Linked DNA regions of Homo sapiens: regions 1 and 3 are each linked to region 2. Evidence: promoter capture Hi-C in 16 types of primary human blood cells and fetal thymus (Javierre and others, 2016). All regions are on one chromosome and are shown on one strand. Each heading gives the region's core, a stretch centred on a gene start or on the middle of the fragment in contact. The rest is flanking DNA. Distances are from core to core; before and after follow the strand shown. Region 1 overlaps KCNMA1 (potassium calcium-activated channel subfamily M alpha 1). Region 2 holds the start of KCNMA1 (potassium calcium-activated channel subfamily M alpha 1). Region 3 overlaps KCNMA1 (potassium calcium-activated channel subfamily M alpha 1).

Region 1 (2,796 bases), core at 243-2,742, 600 kb after region 2:
CAAATGAAATGTACACAGAATATCTCTCCAGTGCCTTCGTGGGTCTGTCCTTCCCTACTGTTTGTGAGTAAGTGACCTTTAACTGGATGCTCTTTGGCTTTCAGGGATATTGAATGTGCCCCTTGCAAGGAAGCCTCCCACCTCTGCTGGGTACAGTTGGAGCACTTGACAATTGCCGAGGGTATCCCGTGTGCTCGGCCCCATGTGATGAATAGGAGGGTGGGTCATTACATGGCCTCTGCCTGGGGAATTTCCACTGGCCCCACTTTTCTTGACAGGCCTGAGAGTCTTGGACTTGAATTCATCATTTATGCTAACTTATGAACTACAGTTATCCTGCATGCCTTCTGTGATGTAGACACATTTATGAAGAGTGGCATAAACCCCTGCCTGTCTGATTCTAAGAGGGCAAAACAAATCTTGCCAGCCCCTCAATGAAAGGAATTTTAATCTGTCTTCCCATCAAGTCTGATCATAGAGACAACAGAGAAGCTACTGAAATAAAGCCATTCAAAGTGTTTTCACCCTTTGCTGAGGAAATGTGGAACCAAATATACAGAAGGAGGCCTTGAGCCCCCACATAGACAACTGCCATGTTATAATAATAACAAGTCTTAGCTTCTCTTTCCACTGGCTCAGCAGGATGGATCAAAGCCACCCGCCATGGCCACTGCAGGTAGAATAGATGGTCACCTATGGGGGATGACCTCAAGAGCTCCAGGTGTCTGCCGTGAGGCATGACAGTGCCTCAGATTCCTCACTTAGAATCCTCATGTTTGCAATCCCACCACTTTTAGAAGCTGAGGTGAGAGGATCACTTGAGGCTAGGCATTCAAGACTAGCCTGGGCAACACAGTGAGACTTTATCTCTACAAAAAATAAGGAAAATTAGCCGAGTGTGGTGGCACACACGTATGGTCCTAGCTACTCTAGAGGCTGGGGTAGAAGGATTGCTTGAGCCCAGGAGGTTGAGGCTGCCCAGGAGGTTGATTACGCAACTGCATTCCAGCCTGGATAGCAGTGATTGTATCTCTAAAATAATAATAATAAAAAATCTCAGATGTTGAGTTTAAGATGAACGGGGTCTTTGTGCCCTCTGAAAACACAAACTCCCTGAGGTTGGTGAAACATTAAGCCTATTCTCCTGACACCTTAGCAAAGGATTTGACAAGGATTCTTCTCACTGGGAAGAAACAGGGGTATCTGGGAGCTCACTGGGCTGAGGAAGAAAAGCCATTTGCTTGCACTTCCTGCCTACATACAAACCAAAAGAGAGGTCTGAAGACATCGAAACAAAACTGATCAGGCTTTACCACAAAGGAGGGGACAGTCCTGGGTGCCCTTGGCCTCCTCTGTATCACGGTTTTCTTTCTGTATGCAGGAGGGAGGGAGGCGGAGCGCTTGGTGGCTTCGTGTTTACCTGGAGCCTCCTGTCACTGAACACAGCAGGTGCACTCTGTCAGTCCCTGGGCCCAGACCCTAAGCAATCCAAAATGGTTTGGCTGTTTACTGAAATTTCTCACCCTGTCTCTAAGCGAAAGTTTTAATGCTAAATGGACTGGAAAAGTGAATAGGTAATTGATTCGGAAGGAGTTATTTTCTGAAAATGGATGCCCTATTGTGACTCCCATGTGTGCCTTTCTTTGAGAGCTATTTCTCTTCCTGCCACTGAGAGGAGTTAAGCATTCAGAGGCATTGGGTCCTGGAACACTGAGGCTGTCCCAGGGGATCTCCCCCTCCCTGGAGCTTGGTCTGCCTAGGATACAAAGCCCCGGGGGAAAGCAGGCTTTTTAACAGAAGCTAGTTTTATAAAAAGGCAATTGAAGCCTTGGCTGTCTAATGTGGTGGTGGTCTGAGCACATAGCAGAGCTGCCAGCGCCTGCGGGAGTCTTATGTTGGTGAGGGTGTCAGCAGGGGCTCCGTCAAGCCCCCTTCCTTGGCTGTAGGGTTTCCCTGGCCTAACTGGTGTTTGTATCTAACAAGAGTGCTCCCTCCCCAACCCCCAGGCCCTTCTTGCTTTTCCACCCTTCTCTTACTCTGCTCTTGGGAACTGAGTCCGTTCCTCTTATGGGTAACTTGAAGGGTCAGGACTGCTCCCCCTACAGGCTCTAACTGGGATAGTCACTAGGTATGTTTGACTCACGTAGATATCAACTAGTTGCTGATATTTCCAAATAGTAGTATGTCACGTAAAAACTAGATTTCTGGATTCTTTAGAAAATCTAATGTGACAATGCAAGACCTGCATTTCCTCAGAATGCTAACTGGCTCCAGTTTGATGTAGCAAAGGGGTTAGTATAGTCATGTAGTTACTCCTCCCTGATATCTTAAACCAGGCCAGATTTGCACATAAATCCCAGGCCTGGCCCTGTGGTTGTGTGAGTTTGCCAACCCTGACCCACTGGGTGGTGTGGAACTTCACTGGCCTTCAGCCAGCTCAAGAGCTGGCACTAGTGGCTCTGTGAATATTCCCTTTGATTGATTTTTGTATTTAGAACATGTCCCAAGAAGGAGACAAATTGTTGTCAGATAATTTAGTATTTGCTCAGTAAAGTTTCTGGAATATATATATATTCCACTTCTGATGTGAGTGAGAATGTGTACAACTTAGTGCTATTATTCGTTTAATACAATGATACAGCAGAGGTAGAAATGATCAATAAAAGAAGGACATTTAATGAGATTTAGGAACATCCCAAAACATTGAAGCTCTCCTCAAGCATTTGATTATCTGGAGGCTTAATTATCTGTGTTTTCTACTTTAAATTAAAGAAAAGCCATAACTCAAAGTTACCA
Region 2 (2,905 bases), core at 322-2,821:
GCGCTGGAAAAACTTGGGGTCCAGCTGGTAGCACGAGGACGGACGCTGTTCAGGGGGCGCAAAGTTTCTGAAAGTGTCAGAAGGGGGATTCCCCTGGTGGTGTACGGAGACACGCTACGGAACAAACACGGACTCCTTCTTCATCTTAAGTGGGGAGAAGGGAAGACCCTAAATGGGGAACGGTGAGCCAGAATGAAGTCTGGAGTCCCTCTTCCCCCATCTGCCCTCCTCACGGGATGGATGGAGTCTGAGACTATATGAGAGGAAAGCAACCCTTCAGGGAACTCTATTGTCTATCGGGGCCTGCACTATCCCCAGGCCAGGTCGTCCTTGATCATTTCTGCCTACTCTTTGTTGGGCAGCCTCTGTTGCTAATAAGGAAAAAGGAGAGAAACCACCTGCTGCTGTCAGAGGCCACAGACCACCCGCTGGCCTTCCTGACTCTACCCTCCAGCCACACGCGGGACCCTGGGCACATAGGTAGCAGGAAGAGCGAAGTAGGGGTGGGTAGCTGTGTGTATCCTGGCGTGGGGTCCTCCTCACTCCCGAAGCCCGAGGGTCCTGGGGAGCTCAGCCTGTGGAATCCAGTTGACAGCTGGCCACTCCTCCCCTCCCCACTGGGGGCTCTTTGGGGAAAAAAACGGCCTGACCGGGGCGCCCCGCCGTCCTCCCAGTGTACCCCACCGCTCTCGGCTGGGGGCGCAGCACCTTGGAGAGAGGCGCCTGGCCCCGCGCCTGGGCTGGGGGCGCTCTACCTTGCGCCCTGGGGGTCAGGGGCGCTTGCCGGGCCGCTGCCGAGGGGCCCTGCCCACCCCTGCCCAGCCCGGAGCCCAGGCGAGCCAGCGCGGCGAGCCTCCTCCCCTCCCGCCTGGGTCGTCCTGAGTCCGCGCCCGCTCCAGTTGCTGCAGCTGCTGCTGCTGGCGGCTGCGGGGAGCGCGGGGCGCGCGCCGAAGAGGCTTGGGCGGCGAGGACGGGGACGAGGAGGAGTCGGAGGCGGCAAGGAGGAAGAGCGAGCGGAGGCCGAGGGGCTCAGCGGCGTGGCGACAGGACTAGGGGGTCCCGAGAACATGGGCTAGCAGGCGGCCACGGGCCGGCGGCCGGACGCGGTGAACCTGCCGCGGCCGGGCGCGCACTGGCGCGGCGAGCCGGAGCCGAGCGCAGCCGGGGGAGGAGGGCTGGCGCAGGGGCGCCCGGGCGGAGGGGGCCGATTATCCATTATTAACGAGTTACCACCTAATAAGCGGAGAGCGGCTCGTTAGCCGCGCGGGAGGCGCTCGGGGAAGGGGGTCACCGGCCGAGCGCAGCGCACACCCGTGGCGCACGGCGGGCGGCGCGGCGCCGAGGACACCCGGGACCGCGCGCGGAGCCGGGGCGGGCCCGGGGGCGGCGCAGACCCCGGGCGCGGGCGGCCCGCGGCGCCCCCTGGCTCTCGGCGCTCGGGGCCAGCGCAGCCCGGGGCGAGCGGGGCGCGGGCCGGGGAGGGGGAGCTGCCCGCGCACTCCATCCCCCTCCCCCCCGGGCGGGCGGCGGCGGCTCGCTGTATATATCTCGGCGCACCCCGCCAGGTCGCGCACAGCGCCCCGAGCCCAGGCGCCTCCCCGCCCCCCTCCCGCGCTCCGCGGCGGCGGCGGCGGCGGCAGCAGTAGCAGCAATATGGCTGTTGATGGGTGTTTGGGGTGGCGCTGGCGGCGGGAGGAGCTCCCCCGAGCCCCTGCGCCGGCTGCCCGTTGCTAGCTATGGCAAATGGTGGCGGCGGCGGCGGCGGCAGCAGCGGCGGCGGCGGCGGCGGCGGAGGCAGCAGTCTTAGAATGAGTAGCAATATCCACGCGAACCATCTCAGCCTAGACGCGTCCTCCTCCTCCTCCTCCTCCTCTTCCTCTTCTTCTTCTTCCTCCTCCTCTTCCTCCTCGTCCTCGGTCCACGAGCCCAAGATGGATGCGCTCATCATCCCGGTGACCATGGAGGTGCCGTGCGACAGCCGGGGCCAACGCATGTGGTGGGCTTTCCTGGCCTCCTCCATGGTGACTTTCTTCGGGGGCCTCTTCATCATCTTGCTCTGGCGGACGCTCAAGTACCTGTGGACCGTGTGCTGCCACTGCGGGGGCAAGACGAAGGTAACGCGCGCCCCGGGCGCCCGCCCTCTGCGCCAGCCCCACCGCTTCTCGGCGTCCCCTGCAGCCCACCTCCTCGCTCCGCGCCGCGCCGTGCCTCCCTCCATCCCCGCCTGCCTTCCCCTCGCCGCCTTCCCTTCCCTCGGCTCTCCCGGTGCTCTCGGATCGGGGCAGCGGGCGGCGCGCCGGGGGTGAGGAGTTGCCCCCAGCCAGTGCGCTCCGGGACGCGGACGCTCAATCCTGTCCTCTTGTTTATTGTAGGGTTGTTGGCGGCTGCGGCTGGGGCCGGGGTCGGGGACTCACAGGCTCGGGTGCCGTGGTGCGGGGTGGGGACAGCCAACTCAGCGGGGACGGAGGAAGCTGGGGGCAGCTGGGTGCGTGTTTTGCACCGCTCACCTGCCGGGGCTCGGCTCCTGGCGGTGGGCGAGAGGGAGCACATCCGCCCATACTTTAGGAACCTGTTGGGGAGATGAGTTCGTGGGGTCAGAAAGAAGGGAAAAATCCTTTGGGCAAGGGAGAGAATAATTTTGCACAAGGGAATCCCGGGGGAGGAGCATGGCCCGAGATAACAGGGGGACTTCGAGGGGCGAGAGAAGTTGGGGAGATCCATCCCACTATTGGGGGTAGCCCACGGGGCTGCCACTTTTGGAATGTGTCGAGGTCGCATATCTGATGTAACCTCCCACTCCGTCCCTTAGGTGCTCTAGTGGAACATACCCCAAGTTCTTCGGCCTCTGTTCCTTTGCCCCCAGGCCACCCACTTTGGGTCCCCGGAAATGCCACCAGCAGCGCGG
Region 3 (2,700 bases), core at 179-2,678, 520 kb after region 2:
CAGTCAAGGATCTTTTCGAGGAGAAGGTTACTTTTAGGTAAGCCTTGTAGAAAAAAGTGTCATCCTCATGGGGCTGGGCATGTGAGGGGTAGGGTGGGGGTTGACTTCTAATCAAGGAAGATGCTAACAGCACACTGGTGTGAGAGCATAACACTTGGGGAAACTTTGGGTAATTCTGCACTCCTGGACATTAAGCGTTCTGTGATGGAAAGAGGAGGATGAGGTTAAGAGGGTAGGAAAGGCCAGGTCACCAGGCACAGAAGCAAACGTCATGTAATTGTAAGAAATCTAGAAGCTTTAGGACAACTCTCTGAGGCCATTCTCTCTCCAGGTGCCAGCCTGGCTAATCTTGGCTCCTTCCTTTTGGGCATCCCCAAGTGTGGATCCCAAAGTTCTGTCCCAGAGAAAGTGCAGCCTTGGCTTTTGTAGGGTTTTGGACTTTTGAGCGATTCTCCTGTGACTCTTCCATACTCTGCTGCTTTCATAGCGGTCCTTCCAGAAGGGTGGGTTGGGGGACCCATGTAATCGTCTTTAGGGAGATTTTGTCTGGCTCTCTTTGGCGGTGAATTCCTGCCAATCTGTGGCATTAGGCAGGGATGGAGGCTTTGCAATGCAATTTGAAATAATGATTTGGAGTTGCTGTTTCATTTCCAGTACTTTGGCTGCCTCACTGGGCCAAGAGCTGAAAGAAATAAGGCAGAGAAGCATAAGGTGGGCAGAAAGATTGATAAAGAATTAAGAATGCAGCAGAAGGAAAATTAAAGTGCATGGGATGAAATGGGCAAATCACAATTATGTGACCAGCATCAGGGCCCTTTCCCAAACTGCAAGCCCATAGGGGGCCTAGAATACTCCATAGCCTGAAACGGCCAATTAAAGGGGAGACAAGGAGACTCCCTCTCACTATCTGAGGTTTTGGCAGTTTCTCAGTTGCCCTGCAAACTGGAGATCTAACACACAGGTGCTAGAACACTTATTCTACTGTCAGAGGAAAGTCAGCAGCTGTGTTTAAAGGCTGTAATTCCACATCTCATTGACTGTGGTAAATATTGATGACTAAAACATGGATCACTCAGCAATTTTTTCCAAAATGGGAATTTCCTTATTGTTTCCTCTAATTTTTCTTTTCTTTTCTTTTCTTTTTTTTTTTTTTTTTTTTTTTTTTGAGATAGACTCTTGCTCTGTTGTCCAGGCTGGGCGTGATCTCAGCTCACTGCAACCTCCGTCTCCAGGGTTCAAGCCATTCTCCTGCCTCAGCCTCCCGAGTAGCTGGGATTACAGGTGCCTGCCACCACACCTGGCTACTTTTTGTATTTTTAGTAGAGACAGGGTTTCACCGTGTTGGCCACGCTGGTCTCGAACTTTTGACCTCAGGTGATCTGCCCACTTTGGCCTCCCAAAGTGCTGGGATTACAGGTGTGAGCCACTGTGCCCAGCCTGTTTCCTCTAATTTTGAAAATATGTTCATGGTAAACATTGCAACAACACACAAAATCACATAGGATAAAGTAAAATTGCCTCCACATCACACTACTTTGAGATAATGATTACATCTACTATGTCACCTTTTGTTTCTCACATAGCATTCCATGATATGCATGAGTCATCGTGTACCTAACCAATATGGTTTTGGGAGGCGTTTTTGAAACTAAAACATTACTACTGACATGAACTTAGAAATGGCTCCAAGATAAAGTTTGTAAAGAAGAGTATTCTATATGGAGACTGCAAGAGATGTGCAGGGAGAGGCCAAATCATGCAGGTTCTTAGATTCATGGACTTTACTGAGAACAAATGAGAGCTGTTGAAGGATTTTAATCAGGAGAGGAAATGTGGTTAGACTGACATTTTAGAAAGATCCACTATTCCAACAGTTGTATAGAGAATGGGGTTGAAGCATCAAAGACCTCATAGACCATAAGACCAATTAGGAGGCAGTAGTCCAGGGAAGAGGTATTAGGGCATGGCCTTAGGCAGTGCAAATTGGGGCAGAGAAAGAAGAAGGGATCTAGAGATAATTAAGGGATTGAATTGGCAGAATTTCACTTTGTTCCACTCATGTTGTCATTCAGACCATTTATGTTAGTGTGGTGCAGTCCAGTTAACTTTTTAGGGGGTGGGTATTTTACATCTGTCCAGCAAAGAGAGCAGTAAAACAAACAAGGCCAGCAGCACCTGGCAGTACCAGAAACAAAGAGAAAAATTAGAGACAAGCAGAACAGGGACAAACGTACACTTCTTTGTACAAAGTGCATGGCATTTTCTGTGTTAACTGAAACATGTCTTGTTAAACATATAGAGGACAAAGGAGGCCCCAGAAGCTCTGGGTTTACAGCTGTAATCTCTGGAGCCAGACCTTCTCTTGCAGCATCCACAGTTTCTTGGAAGAGGTCTCTAATCTACAAGAATCCTGTGCCTGACCTATCATGATTCACTGTGTCCATCGATGTGAATTAGAACTCATGGGATGGAGACTCAGGAATTGTATAGGCAACATGAGAATGATTGACTTTAGTTGGATCAGGTGTTGATGATAAGATCATAATCTCCCTCAAAGCTTAGGAAGCAGGCTAGAATCTGAATGGTTCAAATCATTCTAACCGCTGGTAGCTTCGTGTTTGGCCCAGATCCCTGGGCTTGACCAGGAAGGCTATGACTATCTCCACACAGAGATATATAACCTTTGCTATGCAGAGCACA

What was found. Contacts are between HindIII fragments. The CHiCAGO score rates a contact against its expected background, and 5 or more counts as called.
Region 1: a contact is called between a fragment that was not itself captured here and the fragment with the promoter of KCNMA1 in region 2, in 1 of 17 cell types (total CD8 T cells). The highest score is 5.4, in total CD8 T cells.
Region 3: a fragment that was not itself captured here is called in contact with the fragment with the promoter of KCNMA1 in region 2 in 2 of 17 cell types (naive CD8 T cells and total CD8 T cells); the score reaches 5.3 in naive CD8 T cells.

Annotation. Positions count from the first base shown.
Region 1 is chr10:77,036,799-77,039,594 of GRCh38, reverse strand. KCNMA1 (potassium calcium-activated channel subfamily M alpha 1) reads left to right here. Exons shown (of 28, transcript NM_001161352.2): 15 at 1-67. Among named protein-coding and RNA genes, the nearest start is that of KCNMA1-AS2, 100 kb to the left of the region's middle. The HindIII fragment of the contact is 4,998 bases long and covers 1-2,796 here.
Region 2 is chr10:77,636,474-77,639,378 of GRCh38, reverse strand. KCNMA1 (potassium calcium-activated channel subfamily M alpha 1) reads left to right here and starts at 1,571. Exons shown (of 28, transcript NM_001161352.2): 1 at 1,571-2,114. The coding sequence starts at 1,737. The HindIII fragment of the contact is 4,792 bases long and covers 1-2,905 here.
Region 3 is chr10:77,116,005-77,118,704 of GRCh38, reverse strand. The region is part of intron 6 of KCNMA1 (potassium calcium-activated channel subfamily M alpha 1); the gene reads left to right. Among named protein-coding and RNA genes, the nearest start is that of KCNMA1-AS2, 23 kb to the left of the region's middle. The HindIII fragment of the contact is 2,262 bases long and covers 298-2,559 here.